7 separate regions of the Homo sapiens genome follow, and all the other regions are linked to region 6. The links are contacts of gene promoters, found by promoter capture Hi-C in blood cells and fetal thymus (Javierre and others, 2016). All regions are on one chromosome and are shown on one strand. The core of a region is centred on a gene start or on the middle of the fragment in contact, and the rest is flanking DNA. Distances in the headings are between cores, read along the strand shown. Region 1 overlaps LOC105376450 (a long non-coding RNA gene). Region 2 overlaps LOC105376449 (a long non-coding RNA gene). Region 3 overlaps COMMD3-BMI1 (COMMD3-BMI1 readthrough). Region 4 overlaps SPAG6 (sperm associated antigen 6). Region 5 overlaps SPAG6 (sperm associated antigen 6). Region 6 holds the start of MIR1915HG (MIR1915 host gene). Region 7 has its middle 17 kb from the start of LINC03027.

The links. Contacts are between HindIII fragments. The CHiCAGO score rates a contact against its expected background, and 5 or more counts as called.
Region 1: a contact is called between a fragment that was not itself captured here and the fragment with the promoter of MIR1915HG in region 6, in 1 of 17 cell types (naive B cells). The highest score is 5.2, in naive B cells.
Region 2: a contact is called between a fragment that was not itself captured here and the fragment with the promoter of MIR1915HG in region 6, in 1 of 17 cell types (total B cells). The highest score is 5.0, in total B cells.
Region 3: a contact is called between a fragment that was not itself captured here and the fragment with the promoter of MIR1915HG in region 6, in 2 of 17 cell types (fetal thymus and total B cells). The highest score is 7.5, in fetal thymus.
Region 4: a fragment that was not itself captured here is called in contact with the fragment with the promoter of MIR1915HG in region 6 in 2 of 17 cell types (total B cells and naive B cells); the score reaches 12.1 in total B cells.
Region 5: a fragment that was not itself captured here is called in contact with the fragment with the promoter of MIR1915HG in region 6 in 1 of 17 cell types (total B cells); the score reaches 7.1 in total B cells.
Region 7: a contact is called between a fragment that was not itself captured here and the fragment with the promoter of MIR1915HG in region 6, in 1 of 17 cell types (total CD4 T cells). The highest score is 6.3, in total CD4 T cells.

The regions. Positions count from the first base shown.
Region 1 is chr10:22,471,641-22,474,425 of GRCh38, reverse strand. LOC105376450 (a long non-coding RNA gene) reads right to left here. Exons shown (of 3, transcript XR_930748.1): 2 at 2,038-2,231; 3 at 1,849-1,888. Among named protein-coding and RNA genes, the nearest start is that of LINC03027, 35 kb to the right of the region's middle. The HindIII fragment of the contact is 1,893 bases long and covers 341-2,233 here.
Region 2 is chr10:22,442,186-22,445,021 of GRCh38, reverse strand. The region is part of intron 1 of LOC105376449 (a long non-coding RNA gene); the gene reads right to left. Among named protein-coding and RNA genes, the nearest start is that of LINC03027, 5.7 kb to the right of the region's middle. The HindIII fragment of the contact is 4,760 bases long and covers 1-2,836 here.
Region 3 is chr10:22,328,648-22,331,347 of GRCh38, reverse strand. COMMD3-BMI1 (COMMD3-BMI1 readthrough) reads right to left here. Exons shown (of 14, transcript NM_001204062.2): 12 at 2,650-2,700; 13 at 2,220-2,300; 14 at 1-2,135. The coding sequence ends at 1,806. BMI1 (BMI1 proto-oncogene, polycomb ring finger) reads right to left here. Exons shown (of 10, transcript NM_005180.9): 8 at 2,650-2,700; 9 at 2,220-2,300; 10 at 1-2,135. The coding sequence ends at 1,806. Among named protein-coding and RNA genes, the nearest start is that of BMI1, 8.9 kb to the right of the region's middle. The HindIII fragment of the contact is 3,822 bases long and covers 1-2,700 here.
Region 4 is chr10:22,346,535-22,349,403 of GRCh38, reverse strand. The region is part of intron 2 of SPAG6 (sperm associated antigen 6); the gene reads right to left. Among named protein-coding and RNA genes, the nearest start is that of SPAG6, 2.5 kb to the right of the region's middle. The HindIII fragment of the contact is 4,311 bases long and covers 1-2,869 here.
Region 5 is chr10:22,394,717-22,397,629 of GRCh38, reverse strand. The region is part of intron 8 of SPAG6 (sperm associated antigen 6); the gene reads right to left. Among named protein-coding and RNA genes, the nearest start is that of LINC03027, 42 kb to the left of the region's middle. The HindIII fragment of the contact is 3,647 bases long and covers 1-2,913 here.
Region 6 is chr10:21,495,980-21,498,830 of GRCh38, reverse strand. It overlaps MIR1915HG (MIR1915 host gene), which reads left to right and starts at 1,571. Exons shown (of 2, transcript NR_160800.1): 1 at 1,571-2,081. It overlaps MIR1915 (microRNA 1915), which reads left to right and starts at 2,190; the gene lies at 2,190-2,269. RefSeq lists silencers at 2,091-2,340, 2,551-2,600, 2,651-2,851. The HindIII fragment of the contact is 8,649 bases long and covers 1-2,851 here.
Region 7 is chr10:22,419,167-22,421,866 of GRCh38, reverse strand. No RefSeq gene overlaps it. Among named protein-coding and RNA genes, the nearest start is that of LINC03027, 17 kb to the left of the region's middle. The HindIII fragment of the contact is 3,225 bases long and covers 1-2,700 here.

The DNA.
Region 1 (2,785 bases), core at 38-2,537, 980 kb before region 6:
TGGGAAGTTTATTGGAGTGGCTTTGAAATTTTAAAAACAGTTTCTTTGTTTTTTAGTTCTTAATATTAAAGCAATAATTAATGCATTTATTTGTGCACAGCTCTTGGAAGAAATGTTTTTCAGTATCACATTGGTAATTTTGCCATAAATAACTGAGTCTCCTAACTGTAAAAAAGCCTTCCATGTGTCCTTAAATCTTTGAGAATTTGACACATGGTGTAACCCCTAAAGATGTATTTTTAAGTAATGTTTAAAAACTTAGGACTGGTGCTTAACAATGAGGAAAAAGGAAAAAAAAAAGGTCTTAATATTATTGTGAACCAGACTATAACTGAAAGCTTGAGGCAGACACATTTTTTAAACAACTGAGTAAAGCACTAAATTAATAGAATCTAATTTCCTCTTCACTTCTGTGATGTTTTATATGAGTAGGCTCAGTGGATCACATTTTTATGGTTTGGTAATACAAAGTGGTGGACATCAGAGAGAAAAGGTAAAATTTAGGGTTGATGTTTTTCACCAACTATTTTAAAGAAACCCACAAGCCTGCCCAGTGTGGTGGAGACCTTCTGGCCACGTTTAGGTAAAGCTGGTCATCTGAGAACCCATCTGTTGGTAATTCCCAGAGCTGCCTTTTAAAAGTTTTTGGCTAAAATAGTTTTTAGAGTCAGGCCATATTCATGCCAACGTGATTCTGGCCCACGTTATACTTAATCTTTCTCAATCCACAAGTAAAAACCAAGCCAACTAGGGTAAAAACTGTTCCAAAGGTGTGGGTGGCTGTAGGCAGATGGTTTTCATTCTTTTGCCATGACAAGAAAAGATTCAAAAATCTGTATGTTTTAGCACTAAATATATTTTGCATCCATTCTTTAAAAAGCCTTAACTCCTACACAAATCAAGTAATATGAGCAAATATCTTCCAGAATGATAATTTTGAGATGGATGTTGAGGAGTAATGCCTTTGAGTGAAGTCTACCTTCAGTTACAGCTAAGAAAAGACATCATGTTAAACACACCTGAGCATATGTGATTATTTCAATTACTTGCCTGAATTTGAGTAAGCTAACTGTGACTATCAGAAAGGATGTCAGCAACAAAAATCCTGGTTTTTCTCTGCCTGCTACAAATCACATTTCAGCAGCTGTCTCTCACCGGCTGAGAGTTAGCTGAGTAGAGGATGACATAGATTTAGTCACGTGTGCACCGATTTCGGCGTAGTGATTAATGCATGTGGGCTCTGAAATTAGACAACCATGTCCATATCTGGTGCCATTACTGACTTGCGGTTGTTCTTAACCATGTCACTGAAGTCTTCTGGGTCCCAGTGCTCTCAAATGTTAAATAGAGATAATAATAATAATACTAACTTCATAAAACTGTTGTGAGGACTAAAGATATTCACATAATATTCAGAATAGGAAATACATAGCACATGGGAAGCACTCAAATGATAGCTCTTATTGTTTTTATTATTTACTGTTTTTAAATGCCTGCTATAACCAAGTATTATACTATACAATATGCTGAGGTTTTGGTAATATCGAAGAAACAGATGTTTTTCTACATCATAGAGCCTAAAAACTAAATCCTTAGGTTTGAGCCCCATTCAACCTGCCTGTTTTAATTTAAAAAGTGTATTTCTACAGTACTTTTGGAGGCTGAGGCAGGAGGATTGCTTGGGCCTATGAGTTCGAGACCAGACTGGGCAACATGGAGAAACCCCATCTCTACAAAAAAAAATACAAACACTAGCCAGGGGTGGTGGCGCACATCTGTAGTCCCAGCTACTCAGGAGGCTGAGGTGGGAGGATTGCTTCAACCCAGAAGTTCAAGGCTACAGTGAGCCGTGATCACGCCATTCCAGCTTGGGCAACAGAAAGAGACTCTGTTTCAGAAAACAAAACAAAACAAAACAAAACAAAGTTTATTTCTGACCTGTAATATTCATAACATTGTGCTAAATGCCATTGATTTTTCTGTGTTCTCATTCATTTTTGCAAAAGAGATGCAAACAAAAAAACAACTCGGACTTACCCAAAGCCCCAGATAGAGAAGCTGCATATTCACACTCAGATCCCTCAGGACAAGATTCCCCCAGTAACACAAAACACAGCACCAACTGCAAATCATCTTCCATTTACTCAACAGACAATGAGTATCAGCGATGTGTCGGGCATTGTTCAGAGCTGGCCATTCAAGGACAAAACACAGTCTTCAACCTCAAGAAGCTTATGGTGAATTGGAGGAAGAGACAAAATTAAATATGTAATCAGTGTACATGGGATAAGTTGCAGTGCAAAGATATAGGGCATCCTGCCAAGACTGAGGGGTGCAGGTGGACAAGAAAAGCCTCCCACAAAAGAGGCCAAGCATAGATGTTGAGAAAAACCATAGCATTAATCCAGGTGAGAAATAAGGAGAACCTGAGCCGAGAATGGGCTGTGCATGGAGAGAAGATTCCGGGGTAAAGGCAAATCCTGGTCACCATTTGGATGTGGGGAAGAAGGGAGAGGAGAGTGTGAAGGAAGGCCCCAGGTCTCTGTTTGGGGGACCAGAGGGGCATGTACCCAAAGAAGGGGTGGAGCAGACATGCTAATGGCTGTCCATGGTGGTCACATTGCAATTACCAGCTCTAGAAGGCACCATAGATACTCATCCCAAGGAGAGCACCAAGAATTGCACGTGAAGCCAGCCTATCTCTTGAGAGAAATCCCTGTAGCCGGGAAGAGAGAAGACAAAATAATAGGAAAATGGGGGGCAGGCACAGTGGCTAATGCCTGTA
Region 2 (2,836 bases), core at 14-2,513, 950 kb before region 6:
ATAAGATTGTGGTCCACTCCTCTCTAAGTCCCTGTGCCTACTCTAGTGATGGCATATAAAGATATTCTGTATACATTTGCTTTTTGACAAATTGAAAGTATTTACTAGAAGCATTTGGCCTGCATCCTTTGCCACACTCCACCTCTTTTTTTCCCTCCCAGTTATAAGAGGGCATAGTAGATGGTAGTCAAGAAATAATGTCCTAACTTTGCTATTGTGGTGTCAGGCCTAAAAGTAAGGAGCAGTATTACTTGTCATCTGGGGAAAATCAAGAGGGCCTGCCTCAAATGAAAGCCTTCTTCCCTCTCCGTTCCAGCAGATAAGGTCCCCTAGCCAAGCTACCCTCCTCATCAAGTGGACCAGGTGGTGTTCCCGCTTATCCCTGAGTATTGGGTTTCAGTTCCCTGCCAGCCCATGGAATTGAAACAAGCCAATCACATCATCCTATAGGAAGCAGGGGGCACCCCACCCTCTTGTTACCACAAAGCCTGCCTCCCAAGCCCCTGCTTATTCATTCAGTTCCTGAGGACAATCTTCATTCACTCTTGTGTGCCGTATCCTTCTCCCCCTGGCTATGAGTACATGTGACTAATAAGCTGCTGTCAATCTCAAGTGTCCAGTGTCAGGTGCTGTGTGTCTGGCCAATGGCATAACCTTAGGGTGAGAATCCCTTCCTCACCAATGTGGTAAATAGGAGGTGACTAAAACCGTTAGTCCCACAGGAATAGCAGTGATGGTGGGGAAGTGGCAGCCAGCCAGGCAGGGATGTAGGAGACCTAGAAATTTTGGTTCATCTCTGTCATGAGTCTCATTTCATGCTGGGCTCCTGAGTTCCTAAGGTAGTACTGGTCACCTGTACATGATTGCCAATGTTGACTGAAAAACAAAAACTGGCAAAATGTGCATTTACCCAGGTAAAAAGTCTGCATGGGTAATGAATAATACCACATGTTGCGTAGTCCAGATATTTCAAAAAATGGCAGCCCCGAGAGTGGAAATATCGCTTTTTTAAAGGTCTTTAACTGAAATATTTGGGCCCAGACTAAGCTAAATTTTATAGGATTGCTGAGGTTAAACTCTAAGGGAGCCCTAAGCTGACTTCTTTACATTCCAGGTTGTTTTTCCCTTTTTAACCCAACTTAAAGCAAGGGGAATCCATTCGGTACCAAAGCACTAACCAGCTGGGGTTATCCAAACAAGAGTAGATATTTTCGGCCTGAATTATTTCCATAATTTCACCACTTTCCACTTGGCAGTAGAGTTATTATTCTGCAACTGTATTTCATGTTTGTGAAGGAGCAGACTCCTCCCAGCCTGCAACTATGAGACAAAAGCCACAACTCTTAGATGCAAATCAGCGTCCCAGCCCTCATTTAATAAAATGCTTATTATATAATCGTTTTAAGATACAGGTATTAGAAAAATGAGGAAGTAACAACAACCAAAACCAAAATGAAGAAAAACCCAATCTTCAGAAATGCATCAATGTTCTCTTGAAAAAAACTTTCCCTGCTGAATCATTCACTTTTCAAATATGACTTTGTGTTAGAAAAAAGTTCAGATTCCATCCAAAGTTCAAGTCCATTGTTCCCTACCTAGGTAATTGCCACAGATCAGCAGGGTATTACTCTCTGATGTCCCAGCAGCGAATCATTCAGCTGACAGCATTTTAACATCTGTTGTAGACATTTTTTAAAAAGCATCTTCGGCATCCAGAGGAATTAAATACATCTGATAAATGTCTGAGACTTTGGACAAGGCTCAAAGTCATTTTTTCTGAGTGAAGAAAGTACACTAAAAAGAGAGTAAACTGTATTCACTTTTTCAAATTCCCTAAATACTAACATTTGCATTTTACTATGGGTTGCTATACTATTTATTATTTCAACTCCATCTTACTCTATAGAGCACATTACAAAAGCTAGCAATAATTCTCACCTTACATGCCTGAAAGGTGGGTTTATTAATTTAGTAAAACCTAAGTAAATAATAACATTTCAATCATTCCATAACCCTCCTTGTCTTTTCCCATCAACACACTCCTAGGACACCGAAGATGGCACTGCCAGCCAAGATGTGTGGCATAGGTGCTCTTGTTTTCCCATGGTTTTCTATTTCTAAACATTGTTCCATTCACCTTTATTATAGACACTGACTCATGGAATAGTTACAGGAACGTGTCCATAGTCTCTCAGAACTAGGAACAGAGCACAGAAATCTCTGTTCTTGACTGTTTGTACTGACCCCTGGAAATTCTATGTGTTTCAGTGGGACACAGACCAGGGCATCCTTTTCCCTGATCCTGTTGAGGATGTGGAAGGAGTGACAGGAAGACTGTGGTCAGGAGTCTGGATTCCAGTCCTGCTTTTATCACCAACTAGTATCCTTTGGCAAGGTCTGCTTTCTGATCCTCACTTTCCTTATCTATATAATGAAGACATTGGATCACAGGATCATTTAAGGTCCCTTCAGATCTAACTTTTTATATGTGATAGATCATTTCTGATGGTGGTCATGAGAATCCTTCCTACCTCCTATTTTGTACCTTTTTTTAAAGGTACACTTTACCTAAAAGCTACAATAAAATGCATACATTTTGACAAATGTATACACTTGTATGTATACTGCCACAATCAAGGTACAAAACACTTCCATCATGCCAAAAAGCTCCCTCATGCCCTTTTGCTGGCAATCCCCATCCTCTAGCCTCAGGCCACCAGTGATCTGCTTTCTGTCACTATAGATTAGTTTGCCTTATCTAGAATTTCATATAACTAGCATAATATATATGCTCTTTTGTGTCTGGCTTCTTTCACTCAGCCTAACCACATTCTTT
Region 3 (2,700 bases), core at 161-2,660, 830 kb before region 6:
CGTTTACCTGTTGTAATCCTCTATAGGTTTTCCATAACTTCTGCACATTGTGCTTTTCATATCAAATTTTTATTAAAGATCTTAGCTATTTTCTAAATGAATATCCTTTTTATTGGATTTTTTCCAATTACAAATGAAATTTCATTTTACATCTATAATTAGAAACAACACTTACAATGGGACTGTACAAATTTAGGTCAAAATAAAAATATATGTATCTTGTGACTTCATAAAACATCCTTTACTATATTTTTAAAGAAAGCAGAAGTAACAGCAATATATGTAAAAGTAATGATTTAATGACTATAAGCAAGACAAAGCAATAGAATTGTGCTTCTTTTGCAGACTGGGGACAATGAAATGTTTAGCTACAATTTTCCCATACAAACATGAAACAATATTCATATAGAATAAACACCCTCACAAATAACTGATGGGTGATGAACACACACCAAGTTCGACCAAAGCAAAAAATAAACTGAAAATTGTTGGGTGGGGTTATTCATATTTTAAATTCAACATGCTTGCTCTATTTAAAAATACCTGTAGAAGCTCATAATAAATAGCTTCTATTTTCAGACATAGCAGAGAAGGCATATTCCATTGTTAACTGTAAAAGCAACTCTTAAATTTAAAATTACTGCTATACCACCTATTAAAATAACTTTAGATAAAATGCCTTCTTTTAGCAACCTGCTGGTTTATTTAAAAAATTGTTTTAGAATTATAGTGATCAATATGCATTTTTAAAATACAATATTAATTCCATCATAGCCAATGGAAAATTAAGACGGTTTCCATATTTCTCAGTTAAAGGTTTTTCTTCACTGCAACAATCTTTAAAGTAAACATGTATTACTGGAGAAAAGTATATAAAGTATAGAAAGATGTGCCAATTGCTTCTAATGGAACAGACTTTAGAATTAGATATCCACATTAAAAATATTCTTTGCTGGTAAGCAAGGCTCAACATAGGTTATGGGTATCTGCAAAGGTCGAACCAGTTGGGAGAATTTTAACAATCATTTCTGAATGCATGAAACACAATATTTCTTTATAGCATTTATAAATATATCATACAATACTGTTTCCTGTTATGTCATATACCAATATGGCATTGTACAACAAGCATAATGCCATCTGATTCTTACAAAAGCGAATCATTTAAACAAGTCAGTAAAATAAACGGTAGTACCCGCTTTTAGGCATACAGATTGTAAAACTGAAGTTCACTTTTCTTTGATCGGTTTTGCGTAGCAACAGAGAAGTATAAATCAAACAGGAATCAAAATGGCTAAATATGCAAGAAATCGTTATTCACAGTGACATGGCTACATAGAATGCATTATTCTATGCATATTCTTTCCGTTGGTTGAATTTCAAGATAAAAAGCACTTGTTTTCTACAGGTTCACAAAACAGCGTAATAACAAGAACGATCAAGGAGAATGTAATGTAGGCGTTAGTTGAGATTAACAAACTATGGCCCAATGCTTATGTCCACTGCAGAGTACTTCCAAATCCAAACAATGGTTACAGAAACCATTTCCCATCTTTCCTAACACAGAGAAAAAGTCTTGCCTGCTTTCCAAGAAACCAATTCTTTATAACAACAATCTTTCTTTTCAATTAACGTCCATAGGAGTATCACATGTAGTCCATCTTTTATAGCCAAATTTAATGTCACTACAAAAGAAAGCAAATTGGACGATAGTCACATGTATTAGCATCTAGAAAGCTGTAATGGCATGAAGATATCTATATAAATCAGGGGTTTAAAATTTTTTTCCTTAACAGTCTCAGGTATCAACCAGAAGAAGTTGCTGATGACCCATTTACTGATGATTTTCGAGGTCTATTGGCAAAAGAAGATTGGTGGTTACCGCTGGGGCTGTTGCTGGTTCCATTCATAGTACTGGAAATGTGAGGAAACTGTGGATGAGGAGACTGCACTGGAGTACTGGGGCTAGGCAAACAAGAAGAGGTGGAGGGAATACCTCCTGCTGGGCTGTTGGCCTTGTCACTCCCAGAGTCACTTTCCAGTTCTCCAGCATTTGTCAGTCCATCTCTCTGGTGACTGATCTTCATTCTTTTACAAGTAGGTCGAACTCTGTATTTCAATGGAAGTGGACCATTCTACAAAGTTAAAAGGAAAAAAATTACTCTTAATTCTTTAAATATAGTTTACCATCATAATCTAACAACAGATATGCTACTTACCCTTCTCCAGGTATAAATGTAGGCAATATCCATTAGTGTATAATAATCCTTTAAAGGTTCCTCCTCATACATGACATCAATCTAGTGAAAAATATTTTTATTAAGTAATAAAAGAACAAAGGTAAATGTACATTTTTTGTCATTTAAATATAATCCAAAAGTGCTTTAAGAAACATATTCTCCAAACATTTTAACAAAGAAAGACTCCTGAAACTTCAAATGAGAAAAAATTATTTCTAGAGAGTGTTAAGGGATTTGTTTTCATAGCATAAAAGAGAATGTATACCAAATGTTTTAAGATAAATTTCAACTTTAGCACTAACTTCACATTTTTTTTCTATTGCTTTTTTGGGTTCAAAATCCAAAGTGAAAAATGTAATTAAAATTGTAAAATCTATGTAAAATGCAAGAAGAATATAAAAGTAGATACCTGGAAAGTATTAGGTATGTCCATTTTACTTCTGAGAAACTTTCTTAAGTG
Region 4 (2,869 bases), core at 13-2,512, 850 kb before region 6:
GTTACTAATTATTCAGACGGGAAGTATCAAAATTTGTTTTTAAATAGCTGCAAGAGGTAATGGTTCAAACATATAGAATTTGAGAGTACATAAAGAAATTTTATAACAGACATTAAACTTTTTAATTGTTCATATGAGTTCTTTTAATTTAGAGGAATAAAACCTCAGTGAGGAAAAAAAAAAACACCTCAAGGTTATAGATGCTTTGTACACCGTTCTTTCTAGTAATAATTTTGTTTAGAAATCAAACTTACTACCCAGGCGTGGCGGCTCAGGCCTTTAATCCCAGCACTTTGGGAGGCTGAGGCGGGTGGATCCTTTGAGGTCAGGAGTTCGAGACCAGCCTGGCTAAACATGGTGAAAACCCTTCTCTATTAAAAAAACAAAACAAAACAAAACAAAAATTAGCCAGGTGTGGTGGTACGCACCTATAATCCCAGCTACTCAGGAGGCTGAGGCAGGAGAATCACTTGAGCCTGGGAGGCAGAGGTTGCATTGAGCTGAGATAGCACCACTGCACTCCAGTCTGGGCGACAGAGTGAAACCCTGTCTCGAAAACAAAAAAGAAGGAAATCAAACTTAATCTTTTCCAAATAACTCTGAAGAAAAGATCTTGCAACATACTTTGTCTGCTTTGGCAATTACTTTGGACATATTTAATAAAGCAAATTCTCTTATTAGTGTATAAAAAACACAATAAAAAAGATTGGAGACTTAAAATGAAATAAAAACTCCATTGACAATTTTCACCTTTAATATTCCTTTCACATAGAATAAATTCAAAAATTCTTAACAAGGGAATTACTGGTTTGATCATGATACCCATATGGAAAATATTTTTTACATTATCTTGGATCCATGATATATATTTACTTAGCATATTGGAGGGAAAAATGAGAAAACAAACAAAATCTTCCAGGTATGTAGACAGTATGTCAAAGTCAGGAGTAATATGCATTGGTATCTGAAGCTACCAAATGAAGGCATTTGACTGAAAAAAAGTTTGACCATAATGTATAATTGATTTACACATACTGAGGCTCATTCTAAAGCCCTTTTTTAAAATTGTAATTTTTTAAAAGAACAAATCATTTGAATGGTTAAGTAAACTGACTATTAAGAAAGAAAACTGGCCGGGCGCAATCCCAGTGCTTTGGGAGGCCAAGGCGGGTGGATCACAAGGTCAAGTGATCGAGACCATCCTGGCCAACATGCTGGAACCCCGTCTCTACTAAAAGTACAAAAATTAGCTGGGCATGGTGGCGCACACCTGTAGTCTCAGCTACTCAGGAGGCTGAGGCAGGAGAATCGCTTGAACCTGGGAGGCGGAGGTTGTAGTGAGCCGAGATCATGCCACTGCACTCTAGCCTGGCAACAGAGCAAGACTCTGTCTCAAAGAAAGAAAGAAAAGTTTTCATAACAAAGTTTACAGGTTCTTTTTTAATCAAAAGAATAAATACATTGAATATTCATTATGTCTGTATTTAAAATTGCTAAAGGAATGCTTGAATTGAATCTCGATAACATGAAATTTGTTAAAAATAAGTCCCTCAGGAAAAGAAACATTTTAGCATGCTACCCAGATATTAGTCAAGTGCAGAGAATTTCAAAACATAAAGTTATATTCCTTTCGTATTCATCTTTCCTAAGCCAGACCATAAGTGTAGAATCTTATATCTAAGCCACTTATACAGTCAATTTGGATTAAGTTCCATTGTGAAGTCTACATTGCACTCTTATGGGAGGAGCTAACCTGCCACTACTCACTAAAACATGATACTCCGTATCTTAAAAGTTATGTATACTTTAACATCTCAGTATTAAAATTTGAAAATAATATCAATTATTTTCCCATTTTAAAAGTTTTAGTTTGGCTATATTCATATTGTCCAGAAACTAAATCTTTGTTAAGTAGTAAATGTCCATTCACAAAGGTCATTGAGAGGGACTGAGAGAAAAAACTTTAAAAGTTTACACTTTAAAATTACTTTTAAATACACTTCTAAAATGTAACATGTTCTAATACCTTAGTCTGTGTTAGTCTGTGTATATGAAATACTGTGTGCCCAGTATTGTTCTGGGTACTTGGAGGAGTACGGGTGCATACACACACACAGAATACAGAAAATCAACCCATATAAAACAACTATAGAACAAAGGATTATCAATTCTGAAATGACAAAATTTTAGAAATGGAGAAGAGATTAGTGGTTGTCCAGGGTTAGGGATAGCAGGAGGTGTGTGTGGCTATAAAAGGGCAAGAGAGAGGATCCTTGTGACAATGAAAGTGTTCTGTATCTTGACTGTGCTGGTGGTGGATACGCACGGAATAAAATTCTATAGGACAAAACACACACACACACGAACAATTAAAAGGAGGAAACCTATATAAGATCAACGAATTTTTATCAATGTCAATGTCCTCCTTGTGATATTGCACTACAGTTTTGAAAAATGTTACCATTGGGGAAACTGAGAAAAGGGTACACGGGATCTCTCTGTATTATCCCTTACAGTTGTGAATCTACAATTATTTCAAACTAAAATGCGTTTAGAAGATTATAAAATATACTTTATTGTAAATACATGCCCCCCAATAAAAACACACAAGGAATAAATGCCAAAAATCCTAGTGACAAAACGAAGTATCACATAGGTGCAGTAGTAATTCCCCTCAAAGAAACCCAGAGTAATCATTACACTTAAGTATTCTTGCTGTCAACATGTTAATTGTTTAAATTATGTGTTAGTTTTAAAGATCACATCCTATAAACTGAAGATTTCTCATGACACAGTAGTGATAAAATGCTACCTTACAGTTCAGATGGTGGTAGAATCATCCAAAAAAAAAGAAGAAGAAAGAAGAAAG
Region 5 (2,913 bases), core at 298-2,797, 900 kb before region 6:
AATACAATTGAGAGACCAGCAGCAGTGGCTCACACCTCTAATCCCAGCCACTTTGGGAGGCCGAGGCAGGTGGATCATTTGAGCTCAGGAGTTCAAGACAAGCCTGGCCAACATGGCAAAACCCTGTCTCTACTAAAAATACCAAAAAAATTAGCCAGGCATGGTGGTACATGCCTGTAATCCCAACTACTCAGGAGGCTGAGGCACAAGAATCACTTGAACCTGGGAGGTGGAGGTTGCAGTAAGCTGAGATTGCACCACTGCAATCCAGCCTGGGCAGCAGCCCAGCCTGGGCAACAGAGTGAGACCCTGTCTCAAAAAAGAAAATACAAATGATTTCTGTATATTGATCTTGTATCCCATGACTTTGTTGAACTCTTATTAGTTCTATGATTTGTGTGTGTGCGTGTGTGTGTGTGTCTGTGTGTGTGAATTCCTTAGGATTTTTTTACATACAAGATCATGTCACACGTTGGTTTTAAGATTCATTACCTTCTAGAAGATATGCATTATGATTGGTTGTTTATGGCTGTGAGCAAAATAAAATAGCCCTTACAACTCCATACCATGAATTGTACAGAAATTTTATGGGGTCAAAAAAACTCTCCTATTTACCTAGTTCAGTAAATCAAGTAATATCTTACCTTGAGCTAATGAATAACAGATTATAAATTTTCCTAATTGTCATTGCATTTAGTAGTTAATGTTTATCCTTAGATACAATATATGACGATGTCAGAGAAGGAATCCTGGGCTATCTATTGAGGGCATTCTGAGGGTTTGGGCCTGGTTTACCTATTAACTAGCATAGCATCTACAGTTCTAACTTCATTCATTTTTCCGTCATTTCTAAAAACTGACTGTATCCTCCCTGATTAGGGCTATTGGAAAAACCACAGTAAGTAACAACACTATTTTTTTTACCTCTTAACACTACACATAAAAATAGCAATTAACAAAATAAAATTGACAATACTATGGGAAACCAATACAATTTCAATTGTTTTTCACTAAAAATTGGAAGAATACCAAAAATTACTAATTGTTGCTTTCCTTAGTGGATTATTGATATGGCTTGCTCTCAGTGTTGGAGAGTAAACATAGTAGAGTTTGTATTGGTCTGTTTTCATGCAGCTGATAAAGACATACCCGACATGGGGAAGAAAAAGAGGTTTAATTGGAGTTACAGTTCCACATGGCTGGGGAGGCCTCAGAATCACAGCAGGAGGCAAAAGGCACTCTTACATGGCAGCAGCAAGAGAAAATGAGAAAGATGCAAAAGTGGAAACCCCTGATAAAACCATCCACTATCATGAGACTTAATCCCTACCACAAGAACAGTATGGGGGAAACCACACCCATGATTCAAATTATCTCCCACCAGGTCCCTCCCACAACACGTGGGAATTATGGGAGTACAATTCAAGATGAGATTTGGCTGGGGACACAGAGCCAAACTATATCAGAGTTCTCATGAGATCTGCTTGTTTCAAAGCATGTAGCACCTCCCCCTTCGCTCCCTCTCTCCTGCTCTGCCATGTGAAGACATTCTTATTGCCCCTTTGCCTTCTGCCATGATTGTAAGTTTCATGAGGCTTCCCAGCCATGCTTCCTGTACAGCATGCAGAACTGTGAGTCAATTAAACTTCTTCATCAATTACCCAGTCTCAGGTAGTTATTTACAGCAGTGTGAGAACAAACAAATACAATTATCTTGAATGAAAACTGCTGAAAAATTTTTAAAAATTCTTTTCAGAAAGTTATTTTTGTTCTGAAAGCATTGTGGTCCAAAGAGTAATAGCTATTAAAATGAAGAGGAACATAGGAGTAAATCTTTATGACCTTTGGTTAGACAAAGCCTTCTTAGATACAACACAAAAAGCATATGCAATTGAATTTCATTAAAATTTAAAACTTTTGTGCTGCAGACAATATCATCAAGAAAATAAGATAACCCACAGAATGTGAGAAAATACTTGTAAATCATACATCTGATAAGATCTTGCATCCAGAATATACAAAGAACTCTTACAACTCAATAATAAAAAGATAAATAACCCAGTTTAAAATGAGCAAAGGGTCTGAATAGACATCTCTCTAAAGAAGACGTATGAACAGCCAATAAACATATGAAAAGATTTTCAACATCATTAGCCATTTGACAAATGCAAACCAAAACCACAATGAGATACCAATTCAAACCCACTAGGATGACTACAATCAAAAATAAAGATAATAACAAGAGTTGACAAAGATGTGGAAAAAGTGGAACCATCATACCTTGCTGGTAGTACAATGGAAAACAGTTGGGCAGTTTCTCGAGATGTTAAACAGAGTTATCTATTGACCCAGCAGTTTCATCCCTGGGTAAATACCCAAGAGAAATGAAAACATACATCCACACGAAAACTTGTTACAATAATGTTTATAACAGCATTATTCATAATAGTCAAGAGTAGAAATAATCCAACGTCCATCAGCTGGTAAATGGATAAACAAAATGTGACATATTAATACAATAGAATATTATTTGGCAATAGAAAGGAACAAAATACTGATATATGCCACAACATGGACGAACTGTGAAACTTCAAGTAAGTAGTAAAGAAGGCAGGCACATGGCTAGGTGTGGTGGCTCACACCTCTTATCCCAGTGCTTTGGGAGGTCAAGGTGGGGGACTGCTTGAGGCCAGGAGTTCAAGACCAGCCTGGGCAACACAGTGAGACCCTGTCTCTCCAAAAAAAGAAAAAATTAATTAGCCAGATGTGGCAGTACACACTTGTAGTCTTAGCTACTTGGGAGGCTAAGGCAGGAGGATCACTTGGGCCCAGGAGTTCAAGGCTTCAATGAGTTGATTATGCCACTGCACTCCAGTCTGCAACAGAAAGAAACCCTATCTCTAAAAAGGTTAT
Region 6 (2,851 bases), core at 322-2,821:
GTAGAGAGTTTTTTGTATGTATGAGAAAAATATCATAACCATTTCCACTTAAAAAGTGAAGATCATTCTGATGCCCCAAAATAACTGAGGCTAAGAAATAATTAGATACCTTAAAGCTACAGTCTAAATTTCCATGACTGTTTGGAAGACTTCTCTCCAACGCGGGAGGGGAATTTGTTTTTTAATGTCAAAGGTTGTGTTAGCATGTACATTTAACCCAGGAAATTGTGAGAACTCTCTTCAACTCAAGTTGGAAAAAGGGAATGTGTTTGAGCAAAGTCTATTTTTAACAACAGAAAAGTGTGAGTTAAAGTGGACTGTGTGTTAGGTTGGGAATATAATCCATGGCAACTTCACTATACAAGTATTTTTGATTCTTCAGTGGAACTCATCCTCAAATTTTAGTAACTTGAAAAATTGAAGTCTTAAGTATTGTGTATTAAACTGAACCAAGAGATCACAGAAAGACAAAGCTATGGTAAAAGATGTTATAGTTATATTCTCATAGATTTAGTAGGAAAATCACAGCAAAGGAAATGCACCAGGAAGATATGAAATAGAGGAAATATGTTACAAATAATGAAATAGAAGGAGTTGCTGCACAATATAGCTTCACAATCTTATATTTTGAGGGGTAGGTTTTAATGAGAAGCCTCTGCATTGCATGGGAACTGGGAGTCGTAAGAATTATTTATGCAGTAAGAAGGAAAAAAATTAATTATTAGGAGCTCAATAATCACCAAATAAACTCTGAGCTTGGAGGTTAAAAATAGACGGCTATCTTCATGTTCAATTATACAGTATCAATTACTAATACAACTGATGTTTCAGTGTCTCAGCGAGAACAGATACCATCTTCTATGGAGATATCTTGGTATTAATTAATGACTGCTTTATTCTCATTATTCACAAGGAAAAATAGGGGTCGTGTCACATTAAAATTAAGATTATCTTAGTTTATCTGGGCTCTTAAACAAAGATCATTCAAAGTAATTATACTTTGAATTAATCGAGGTAGGCAATTTATCTCGTTATTTTTTTTTGTTCAAAGACAGGAAAATAAAGATCAGAAATAAGCAAAGTTTCATTTTGAAGATAGAAAGAACCAAACAAACATGTCTTGACTTTTGCAGTATTTCCCTTGCTAAAGGGGGAATGAGGGAACTGTAAAAGACGTGACTTTGCAAAGTCAAGTCCTTTTTAAAAGACTCGGATCGAAATTCTTGCTATGCAACAAGGATTCAAGTTTGATTAATTTTCTGCAAGCGACGTGACAGCGGTGTTTTAAAAGATTAATTAAAATTGAAGTGATACGGAGCAGGAATTCAACCTGCAGAGGCGTCCCTGGCGCCTTGGGGGGCTTTGTAAGCGAGTCCCAAGCCCGAACTGCGGGCTTTCCCGAGCCTGGGACGCAACTCCCCGTCTCCTGGAGAGGAACGCGGAATTTGGCAGGGCGCCCGCCTGGCCGCCTGGCATCCTGAGCTGGCCGCCAGCTCTCGGGGGGTGGGGACTGGGTGTGTCCTGGGGAACCCGCTGCCGAGAGAGCAGCTAGCGCAGCTCGCGACGAGCCATTGAGGACCAGGGTCGCGCCGAGAGGCCGGAGGGGGCTCCAGGCAGCCTGGAGCTGACGGCGCCGGGCTGCGTCCTCTTCACCTGGGGGTGGGGGGTGGGGGCACGTACTTTGTGACCAGGATGGTGCCGAGCCCCCTCTACGGCGGGAGCTTGCAGGGGTGCGGGGGTGTGACTGGCGCTCCGCGGACTCGTGTCCACAGTACAGAGGACATGTAGGGTTCGGCCGGGGCGCGGCTGCACCGGGGCCTGCCTCGCGGACCTGGACTCGGGACTCCGGGCGGCCCTGCCTGGTGCCATTGCCTCAGCCAAGTCTCCCACCTCTCTGCTCGGTTTCCCGCCCCACCTTTCCCCTACTACCGCATCCCTGTCCCCTCGCTTCCCTCCGCGATGTCTCCATCCGAGTAAGAAACGAAGCTGAACGCATTGGTAACTGTGCTCAAGAAGATGCAATCGCGGGAGCCCTCAGGGTGGCGCACGGCGGAGAGGCGACGCGGGTGGCGCTGCAGAGGGTACGGTGGGGGGCGGGGAAGAGGGGGGCGTTCGTGTGCAATTAGCCTCCCCAGGGCGCGGACCACGGTGTCCCCTTCTCTCCAGCTGGGGGTCTCGGGTCCTGGCGCTGAGAGGCCGCACCTTGCCTTGCTGCCCGGGCCGTGCACCCGTGGGCCCCAGGGCGACGCGGCGGGGGCGGCCCTAGCGACCTGCGGCGGCGCCGGGAAAGCCCTGCCTCTGCAGCGGGTCCCAGGGGTCGGGGCCTGGAAGGGTCCCTGGGAATGCTCCGCGCCGAGAAGGCTCTGTGGTTTCTCCTCCCCCACACGTCTCCCTCTCCTCCCCTCTTCCCGGGGACCTCAGAGGTGGCGGGGAAGTGGGAAGGGAGGCGGGCTTGCAGACCGTGCAGGCTGGGGAGCCGGAGCTCGGGAGTTGGGGGAGTCCGAGTGAGAACGGAAGCGCGTGGACGCGATGGAAGGGGCCGGGGGAAAGGGGGACGGCACTGGGGAGGGCTGGGGTGCGGGGCAGGCGACAGTCCCTTCCCCTCCGAGCGGCGCGGGGGACCTCTTCCCCGGGGAACCCCCACCCAGCCGTTCCCAACCTCGAGAACAAAGGGTCTGGGAAGCACGGTCGGGGTCGGGGAGCGGAGGTGGAGGGAGGCAGGAAGGCAGGCGGTGGGGGCAGGGGAGGGCGCCTCCCCACGTTTCCTCTCGCGGCCGAATGATGGAAAGCTCCCTCCAGCAAACGCCTCACTGAGGCCGCTTCTGAATCCGGGAGGGTTCGGGTTCGTTAC
Region 7 (2,700 bases), core at 92-2,591, 920 kb before region 6:
TTTCCGGAGATCTGCCATCTTGCAGTGATGATACATTATTAATATAATATTTTTTATTCAATTTTTAAAGTCAAGATGAAAAGGCCATATGGGTTATTCCAAAATGTGCTTTGGTTTTGCATACATACAATGTGGCCCCAAATTTGGTCTCACATACAGTGTTTATAAATGCAAGAATAATGGCTTAATTAGCATCTCTGCTAACTTAGATTGCAGGTTTTATTGCAGAGCACACTTTTCTGTGGGGGAAGGGGGAAGTGAGGGAAGTAGTGGGCAAAAATGTTTCCAGGTGTTGCAACAAAATGCTGATTCTTTTTATTGATATTAACTTTGACTCTGATTTTTTAAAATAAATTTCTTCATCCAGTATCATTGTTTATCTGAAACTCTTTTGGAAATCCATTACAAAAGTGAAAAGAAGAGTAGCAAATATGATTTATCAAGCACTTATGTGCATGGTCACACAGGTTGTGTACTTCACAAGGGCACCAGCACTTCTCAGGGGGCACAGTTCACATATTAGACATCACAGATTTCCATATTTATAAAGATAATTTTCCAGCAGATGGCAGTAAAGTGTGTTGCTCTAACAAAATAAGACTATTACAATAATTTCTGCCAGATGGAAATAAACTATCTTGAGGACTGGGCACCTTTTATATTATACAAAGATATATAGAGTAACGGTGGCACCATTTACTACATGCCACACCTTCTGCTGGCTCATCCTCATTTAATCCTCAGAATCTGATGTAGTGGGTGCTATTAGCAACTTGCCAAGGCCACTGACTGGGGTGGTAGTTTTGACATTCTTATACGGGTCTACTAAGGCCTAGAGACTTGAGGAGACTTGCTGTGGTCAGAGCTAGCGTGACCTAAGGTCAACCAGAAGCCTAGAGGCTCTTACTCTCAGTCCAACCTGCTGCTGGTTCTCCTGTGTGCTCATCACAGTGCTGGGTGACACTGGGGACTGAGAACAGGACACATTTCACTCATCTAAGTAAAAGGTCATCTTCAGTTAGTGAAGAAAAATATGGGAAAATGTTGACATTCCCTTTGGCACTTTACTCGCTTGTATTGTTTGTATGACTTAAACTATACATGCAGACAGAAATAAAAAAACAGAACACTCAATATAGGTTACAATAGTTTTCATAGAGTTGGACTTCTTTATATCCAAAAATACTTTGAGTAAATCATTTACTATCAGTAATGCATAAATTTTAGCAAGAGTGGGCCAGGCGCGGTGGCTCACGCCTGTAATCCCAGCACTTTGGGAGGCCGACGCGGGTGGATCACGAGGTCAGGAGATCCAGACCATCCTGGCTAACACGGTGAAACCCCATCTCTACTAAAAATACAAAAAAATTAGCCGGGCGTGATGGCATGCGCCTGTAGTCCCTGCTACTAGGGAGGCTGAGGCAGGAGAATGGCGTGAACCCAGGAGGCGGAGCTTGCAGTGAGCCGAGATCATACCACTACACTCCAGCCTGGGTGACAGAGCGAGACTCCATCTCAAAAAAAAACAAAAAAATTAGCGAGAGTGTATTACCACAAATTCTATATACGTGAGGAAATTTAGAGGCTTTATTTAATGTATAAATATCCATACCAAATCACTTTGCAATAATGATATATATTGATATAATATTCTTTATCCAGCATTCAGTTTAAATCTACTTCAGAAAATGTATCAATCATGAATAACAGAAGCCCATTTATAAATATTTTGTATTGACCTCTAACTTAATCCCCAAGGAAATATTTTTCCCTAAACCCACTAAAATTAAAAACAAAGTGAAAACTCTATCTTCCACGAAACAAGCAAACTGCAGTAACTTTTGTTTTTAATTTTAAAATAACATGTGTAGCATGAATACATTTTTCCGGAATTTTTCTAGCCGTACAAAGGTTTGGAGAGCTATTTGGAACTATCTCAGCTTGTTAATGACAATTCTGTTTTGGGTTGTGAGATCTGGAGTCATATTTTTGCTTCTTTCTTTATCCATTCATATACTGCCTAATTTTTTTTTAAAAATTAACTTATTGATACCTAAAAAACAATAAAACCCACCATTCTCTAAAGTAATATCACTGAATATGCATCTAATTTTATGGCCTACCAAGGCCTTGTAAAAACAAAACAATGTAAGTATTTATGTTACTAGAAAAATAAGTGCATGAACAAATTTAATTTTAAAAGTCAAAAGTCTCTTAAACAACTGGTAAATGTAATAATTATAGGACAGCCACTTGATCCTTTTAATCACCTGAAAGAAGCAGAAGAGCTACAAATCAACATTTTCTAAACAGTGAATTCTGTGGCAGAATAAGCCACAGTGTACATAAACCTCAACATTTGGTAGCACCTATCTTAATCAAAGAATTGGCTATTTGAAAACACAACAGAAAAATTCTTCATTCTTTCAAGGTTGGTTTCTAAACTTGACATCTGGGATGGGAGATGGGCCTCACCCAGGAATTTAAGGTCAGGGTTTATGTTAAGCAGGACCTCAAATCAAGTTTAGAAACAAGCAAACCTTTCATCCTTTCTTTAAGGAAAAGGGTTTTCTTTGAGAGGAAGGGGTTAGAAAAACAGGTCAATATCCTGTAAATATGGGGTTGTCATTTGTTTTTCCATACTACATTAAATATGCCTGCTTTGTGTTTAGTGTCTTGTGCGTATTCCACTGCCTCTGT